2 separate regions of the Homo sapiens genome follow, and region 2 is linked to region 1. The links are contacts of gene promoters, found by promoter capture Hi-C in human tissues and cell types (Jung and others, 2019). All regions are on one chromosome and are shown on one strand. The core of a region is centred on a gene start or on the middle of the fragment in contact, and the rest is flanking DNA. Distances in the headings are between cores, read along the strand shown. Region 1 holds the start of PENK (proenkephalin). Region 2 has its middle 96 kb from the start of LINC03018.

Region 1 (3,804 bases), core at 783-3,282:
TTGAAGATGAAACATTTTTCTCATAGTTTAAATATACAACCTTCCTATGTGTCTTCTCTTTAATGCCAAGTTAGCACAGGTCAAAGAAACAAACATTTAACCTGAAATATATACCACAGATATTTGGAAACTGTTCCTTGGTTTTCTCCCCATTTCAAACATCTACATAAGGTAAAATTTCCTCAATTCCAGGTGGAACCCAAAGCAGCTTGGATGAATACATTATTCTCTATGAGCTTTTTAAGTCACCATAAAATTTCAACAAATTTCAAAAGCAATGCAAAGGAATTGTCAGGGGAGCTGGTAAAAGTGAAGCTACCTGAGTCTCGAGGTTGGAGATTCAGACTCAGTAGAGCACCAGAGGTGATTCGACAGCCCATGGGGAACCATGATCAGAATGAAAGTTATTTTGTCCTCAGCTTTTTCTTTCCCCAACCCCCTGTAGTGCAGTGTATCTTTGGACTGTTGTCACCCATTGGACACTGGCCACTTCTCTTGTTCCTTTCTCATAGCCAAATTAAACTGTTGTTTTAGTTACTATTACAAAGGGCAGTTGAAACAGAAGTTGAATTCCAGCATCACTGGCTAGTGAGACAGTTTGAACTCTTTCCTGTCTACGGTTATTTCGCCTTCCTCTCCCCGTACCCCTTTTCCATCCCTTTGCTCTCTCCTATTTACAGGTGAGGGTAGGGAATGAGGGACCTGAGGTTAAGAGAGCTGGGGAACATAAATCTAAAGAAAGGCACCGAAATGTCACTAACAAAAAATTACATTATTTGTGGGAAAGATGGGAAGATGACTGCGTGTGGAGGGGCCCTTAGCTGGGATATGTTAGGAGTTGTGGTGACAGCCATCTTCCTTCTGACAGCCCAGGAGAGAACCCAGTGCTATCCGAGGTGCTGAACAGAGGACTTCTCGGGGTTCCCGAATTCCCAGGGTTAAAACAAACTTGGTTTGTGCGGCGACACCGCTACCCTTACCGGTCCCCAGATAGTCGCGGATCCCCGAAGCTAAGAGCCAGGGCAGGACTTCAGTCAGTGTTCCAGGAACAGCTGAGACACCCAGGTCACCACGGGCTCGCGCCGCTGCGGCTCCGACCCGGTGCGAACCGCCATACGCGCCGCGCGGTGGGCCGGAGGCAGTCCGCGTACTGTTGCGGAAACTCTGTCTCACAAGGTGCGCAACACTCGCCGCGCGCAACACTCACCAGGAAGTTGATGTCGGCCGGGCGCACTAGGCGGTAGCTGCACGTCGCGCAATCCTGGCTGCATTCGGCCCGCACGGTCGCCAGGAGCCCGGGGCCGAGCAACAGCAGCCAAGTGCAAAGTGTCAGGAACCGCGCCATGGACTGCGAGGAGAGAGGGACGCGTGCTTCGAGCCTGCCTGGGCGCAGAACGGGGTCCCTCGGCAGGACCCTCGCCGCGACAGCCTCAGCAGGGGATCGTCGAGCAAAAGCCCGCAGGAATGCTCCTTTCTGGGGCCCCGCCCTCCCGGCCGACAGCTTTTAGGTAGACGTGGAGGCGACTCAGATCGCCTCGCGGTTCCCGGGATGGCGCGGTCGCCCCCAACGCGAGGCTGCCTGGGGCACCCGGCTCTTTTCCTGGGCGTCCGCGGCCCAGGGCAAGATTCCGGAGAGAACGCCGCAGACCAGGGGCGAGAGAGCGGGAGCCGGGGGAGGCAGGACATTGACTGGGGTCACAAAGAAGAACCAGGGAACGCTGTTGGGGAACCCATGCAATGAAATGTGAAGGGAAAGAGGGCGGGCAGACGTCCCCAAACCCGCTCAGCAAAGACAAGCTTCGGGCAAATTCACTCACGTTGACGCTGTTCGGATGGAGCAGGCCAATTGGAAAAGCCGGGTTCAGACACGACTCTAGAGGGAAGAGAAGAAGGCAAGTGTGAGGAGGGCGGGCGTCGGGGAGAAGCGGGCCCGGGTGTGCTGGCGGACGTAGGGCCTCACCGTCGCGGTCCTCAGCGTCTCTGCGGGGTCACGGGCCAGGCTGCGGGGCTCTGAGCGCCTGCCTCGCCGTCCCGGGGCTTAACGGCTGCTGGAGCCACTTTATAATTAGCCCCAAACCGAAGGAGGCGCGCGCGCCCCAATCGCCGGCGGGCTGCAGCTGACGCAGGCCCTACGCCAGCCCCGCGCCGACGCCTTCGCGGGAGGGGTCGGTCCCCCAGCACCCGCGCGCCGCTCCCCCCGCCGAGCTCGGGTGGGGGCCACAGGGGGCGCTCGGTGGCTCCCCACACGGCCAGGTGACAAACCCAAGGCAGTTAGGAAGTTTGGGGAGAGTGAGATAGGATCAAGTTTCTCCGCATAAAGTCACTGAAATTGCACCGTGGGATGCGGGCTCCAGGGAGGGAAGCGAGGTGGGGGCGTTTGGAAGGATAGATGGACTGGCTTAGACTTCTGGAATGTGCTGGAGACCCAGCGGGCCGGTGAACCTGCCCCTTTCCCGCCTCCTCCCTGGGCCCCCTCGCGGGTCCCCGTGGGCACCAAGCACAGCCGTCCGGAATGTCGTCATTTATTGACCAACCTGTCCCCCACACTTGACTCCGAGTTCCTTACTGCAGCATCTAACAGCGTCAAGGTGCGCAGTTTAGGCGCTCAATTAATGGTTACAGGAACTGAACGATTGAAAGTTTCTGGGAATCTTAAAATCTCAGGACAGAATTTTCACCTTTCCAGTTAGAGACCCTTGGCCAAGCGTAGAAGCAGGTAAACCCTCAGGTTCCGGGACTGCGCGCTTTTCAGCCACTGTGGGAGAGGATCCGTGTTTAACCAGCTCCCCGGGGCTCCCAAGTCGAAGACCTACTGCCTTGAGAGCGCTGTCCAGGGTGTCCGGGGGTGTTGGATCAGTGAGAGGGGGGTGCCGGGGCGGGTGTAATGTCAGCGCGCCAGGAGTGTGGTGGGGAGGGAGGGATGAGGGACACCCTACCCGGGACGCCGGGGCTTGGAACCTCTTCTCCACCGGGAGGGGGCCGAGGGCACACTGTGGAGGCTGGTACTGTCCATTAAGACACGCTTTCCCGCTTCCTGGCTCTGCAAAAGATTGCTAAGCGGCAAGCTGCTTACATTGCCTGAGGCCTCAGTTTCCCTATTTGAAAAATAGGAACAGAGGTAATATGCCATTCATAAGGTTCTGGAGAGAATCAAATGAAATAGTGGACGAAATCTCTTAGCCTTGTGCCTGGCACTATAGCAAGCCCTCAAAACATCTTCTAACCATCCGTCATCCGTCCGTCCACCTTTCCATCTGTGACCATTGTCTGCTTACCTTATAGCTACCATCGATGTATCCAATCCACCTATGCATCTATGTCTCCTAGACCTAGGGGGAAACCATAAACAGTTCCTGGGAAAAGGTCCCAGAGGTTTCCAGGCCCTCTGCGCCCTCTGCAAAGGGCTGATTTCTACAGTCGCTAGGACCTGCAGCGGCGCTGCTCCCGCGGGGCTCCGGCCGCGCTGCATGTCCCATTATAGTCGCTAGAGGGCAGCGCTCTCCTGCGTAGGCTGGGCTTGCGGGGACTGGGGTCTCAGTTCTCCGCAGGCCTCAATGTGCGGGCTTGACACGCAGCCCTCGGATTAGCCCCGAAGCTGCACCCGAGCACCGCCTGCCTCCCGGCCGGGGCATCACGGTAGCAAGGTCGGGAAAGCAGAGCCCTGGAGTGGGGCTGGAGAACCCCGGACATAGCCCTAGGGAGCCAGCATTACCCTCTGAGCAGGAAAACACAATGTTTCCCGCTTTAGGTTCTTTTCATCATGGGGCCCCTTACTAGCTCCTTACTCTCTCCCCAAGGCAAAGG
Region 2 (3,804 bases), core at 556-3,055, 1.2 Mb after region 1:
GAACTCTCACTGTTGCTTGACTGTGAAGAAGGTTGGGAAATCAGGAAATGCTGTAGAAAGAGTGATAGGCAAATTATCATCCAATTATCCTGCCACACTCAATAAACTCATGATAGTGTTATTTTTAATAGATAAAGTAGCAGTGGCTAGAGGACAGTAAGGAAATGACCTCAATTAATGAGTGACTGGTTAAGGAAAGAGAAGAACTGAGAAGAACTCAGGTTTTGCATCTTGCTCCAGGTTTCTGAAGGTCCAACTGAGAATTATGTGTGGGCCAGTCACCCACAGTGGGCAAAGTCCTCAGGCTTTTCCACCCACCCTCCATTTCTAGAGGGTTTAAGGGGCTAGATAGGTTACCTAGGGAGAGACTCAACTCAGGAATAAAGAGGGAATCAATTTACTCTAAGTGGAAAGCAGGATAAGTGCTTGGCCTAGGGTTCAAGGCAGAAGTTCATTTCCAAGCAGAAGTCCGGTTCCCATGATATAAAATCATGGTCTTTGCTTTGGATGTCCCATCAGATAAGCATGACAGAGAGAAACATCAGCATGTTTCAGGGCCCCAACAACCTACGAGGCAGATGTAATGCAGAGTCTGAGAAGTTGGAGGAATTGGGATTGCCTAATACCCATTGTAGGTTAGGCTTAGTGCTGGAAATGAGATTAAGCAGAACAAGTTGGTAAAAATGATGTTGCCCCAATTATGCAGAGAAGAATGGGTGTTGATCACTTAGGGTCTGGCATGAAACAGATGACACACTCAGTGGGATAAGTGAAGAGAGGTTAATGAAGACATGATTTACAAAGGTACAGATAGATTTAAAGGAAATTAACTGAGGATAATGATGCACATCAGAGCTAATAAATAAATAAGTAAATAAGCCAGGGAATGTTACTACTCCTAGGCCTGAAGGGGCATGAATAGAGAGCAGCTTTAGGAGAAGATCACTCAGTAAGACCTATGGGCTTTGGCCATGGAACAGAGCCATTGTTGATCTTTGGTCCAGTAGAGAGGGAGCTCAAGGAATAGATCCTTCGATTTCTCTATCCGCAAACTATGATATCCTGCTGGTACCTCCTGTTGGCCAAACTTGAAGCCAGAGGGCAAGAAGCTCAGCTAAAGCACTTCCTAGAGTACAGTGTCCAGGGACAGCAGAGAGGGATAATGGATGGGTCTGAAGGGGCAAACAGCAAATGGCCAGAGCAGGCACAGGTCCTGGGAACCAGGGTGGGGTGTGTGTGTGTGTGTGCATGTGTGTGCATGTGCGTGTGTGTGTGTGTATTCCTTCTCAAGATTGCTCTCATTTGCATTATTAAATTTTATTTTTATAATCTTTGAGAGCTATTGCAAAGCTTTTGTATCCAAGATACTTTTCTTTCTATATTATCAGAAGTTCTGATCTTCGTAACTAGATTTGTGTAGACCGTAGATAGACCCTTTTACAATAAATCAAGCTTTGATTGCAGAAAACCAATGACTATGATTTCTCTACTTAGAGTTCCCAAAATTGGTCTTTGTTACATTCTTTGAGTGTGTTGATATTTTCCCTCTATCAATAAGTCAAAGTCATAGATAAAATATATTTTAATATGATGAAACCAGAAGAAACTGTGCTTTCCAATATGCAAGATGGAAGACTTAAGCAGTTGTTTTATCCAACTTGAACTCCACCTTGGAACACATGGACTTGCTTCCTGTACTTTGTCTATCAGGAGGGCAATAAAGATCTGATCTAAGCCAGAGAGTGCAGAACTAAACATTGACCTCCCTTTGCAAAAGAATATAACCTCAAGGGAAACTGATCATGAGAAGGAAATTAAATCTTCTAGTTAAATTATGGATTTACAGAGAGGAAATTCTATTCTTCCCTGAATAGGTTCAGGAATCTTGTGTGACTTTGAAGACAAAGACACACCATGTACTGTGTAGGTCAGTTAGTGAACTAAATGACAAAGTAGAAGTTGCCAAAAGAGGTAGATAACAAAACAAATGAAAAATAATTAAAGTGCCATTAATGGCAGTAGTCTACATTTTATCCCTGCCCAAACCAGGATTAGAACAAGTGTGAGACACAGCAGTAGGTGGAGGATTGGAGTGAAGGATAGAGGTGCCATTTCAGGAGCTGAGGCCTCATTAAAGTGGGAGATGGCACTGGTGAGCAGAATGAGATAGGGACAGGCACCATTTCTGTGTGATAGTGAGCAGTTTATGTCCCTTCCCTGATCCTATTGATAAAAGGGCCTGAAGGGGCAAGAATAGAAAGTAGCTTTAGGAGGGGATCATGCCATATAAGTTATGGCTGGTGTGATGATAACATCTGCCTCATTCACAACAGTAAAAGAAATGCTAACATTCGAGGGTTCCATCTGCAAGACAGTATAATTCAGTCTGTTAATTTTTTATGTTTGGAGGAATTTTTTATGTGCATGGAGGAAAGGTAGAAAATGGTTTCTTGTGAATTTTGTAGATAAATTTCTAGGAGTGTTGTGAACATTGCTTCATTTACAGGGATTGACTTGGGCCTAATTAAAGACTGGTTAGGTAAAATGGTATTTATTACTACCAGGTACACCACAGGAATTAGCACTAAGTACAGTAATGAGTAATTTGAATAATCAGTTTGGCAGATAGTGAGACAGGGCAATACTGTGTCATCACTGAGAGAGATGAACTCTCCCTTGTTTAGAGAAAAAAACAGAATAGAGTCCAGTTGGATACTTGTACCATGACTCACTAAGCCTGTAGCATAGACAGAGTGTGAATATTACAGATGCATCACACAAAGTGGAAGGCAGGAAGAGAGACATAGAAGACTTTAGCACATTAACTTGGCTTTCTGAATGACTCCATTTTCTGATTCTATGCATGATCCTCCATCCTCAATTCTCTTCTTACCTGCAAGTGTTTGTTTAATGTAAACTTTGGCTGGCCCTATTGGTCTATTAATTGAGATTTAGCTAGGGAGAGTATGAACAGGAATTACATTGAAGACTGATTTGATTTAGGCTTTCCTCTTTAAATTAACATTTTGGGGTGCCTTTAGCATACTGTGTGCCATCCTGGACATTGGAGGGTCAGTGCAAGTATCTCTGCCTTTGTCTGGTAAGATCAGTCAACATACTGGAAAAACATCACCTATGGCTCCCACGAGTACTCATGGCTTGGGGTTCAGGTCTCCGGATGGTAAGTCTGATGGTGAGAGGCAGCTTATCAGCTTCCATGTGCTATTTATGTCCTGGAATTGGGAAATTTTGTGCAGAATTGAAGTGATTTCTTCTATTCATGAAATCTTTTTATTATGACATAGAAATCTTTACCCGCATTTAAAATTCACCTTTGAGATTTCTTTTCTTTTTTCCTTTCTTTTTTTTTTCTTTTTTCTTTTTTTTTTTTTTTGATACAGAGGTCTCTCTCTGTCACCCAGTGGTGCTATCTCAGCTCACTGCAATCTCTGCCTCCCACATTCAAGCTATTCTTGTGCCTCAGCCACCCGAGTAGCTGAGATTACACACCTGGCTAATTTTTGTATTTTTAGTAGAGATGGGGTCTCGCCGTATTGGCCAGTCTGGTCTTGAACTCCTGGATTCAAGTGATCCACCCACCTGGGTCTCCCAAAGTGCTGGGATTATAGGTGTGAGCCACAGTGCCTGGCCATCTTTGAGATTTCTAAAAGAAAACTGGGCCATATCAGTTTAGTCTTCCAATGCTTAGACTCTGAAGAAAAAAAAAGCAAAGTGAGAGAAACCACAGAAAACATCCTCAGATGGCTCTTGAACCAGCAGTTCTTGGGTCTTATAGGCCATCAG

Evidence for each region. The method cuts DNA at HindIII sites, captures the fragments that hold promoters and counts their contacts. A contact is called where the count stands out against the background at its distance.
Region 2: a contact is called between a fragment that was not itself captured here and the fragment with the promoter of PENK in region 1, in 1 of the 25 tissues and cell types used here (dorsolateral prefrontal cortex).

The regions. Positions count from the first base shown.
Region 1 is chr8:56,444,609-56,448,412 of GRCh38, forward strand. It overlaps PENK (proenkephalin), which reads right to left and starts at 2,033. Exons shown (of 4, transcript NM_001135690.3): 1 at 1,961-2,033; 2 at 1,818-1,873; 3 at 1,208-1,348. The coding sequence starts at 1,345. PENK-AS1 (PENK antisense RNA 1) reads left to right here and starts at 1,199. Exons shown (of 4, transcript NR_125813.1): 1 at 1,199-1,892. RefSeq lists an enhancer at 804-1,695. The HindIII fragment of the contact is 6,864 bases long and covers 227-3,804 here.
Region 2 is chr8:57,648,049-57,651,852 of GRCh38, forward strand. No RefSeq gene overlaps it. Among named protein-coding and RNA genes, the nearest start is that of LINC03018, 96 kb to the right of the region's middle. The HindIII fragment of the contact is 3,939 bases long and covers 1-3,775 here.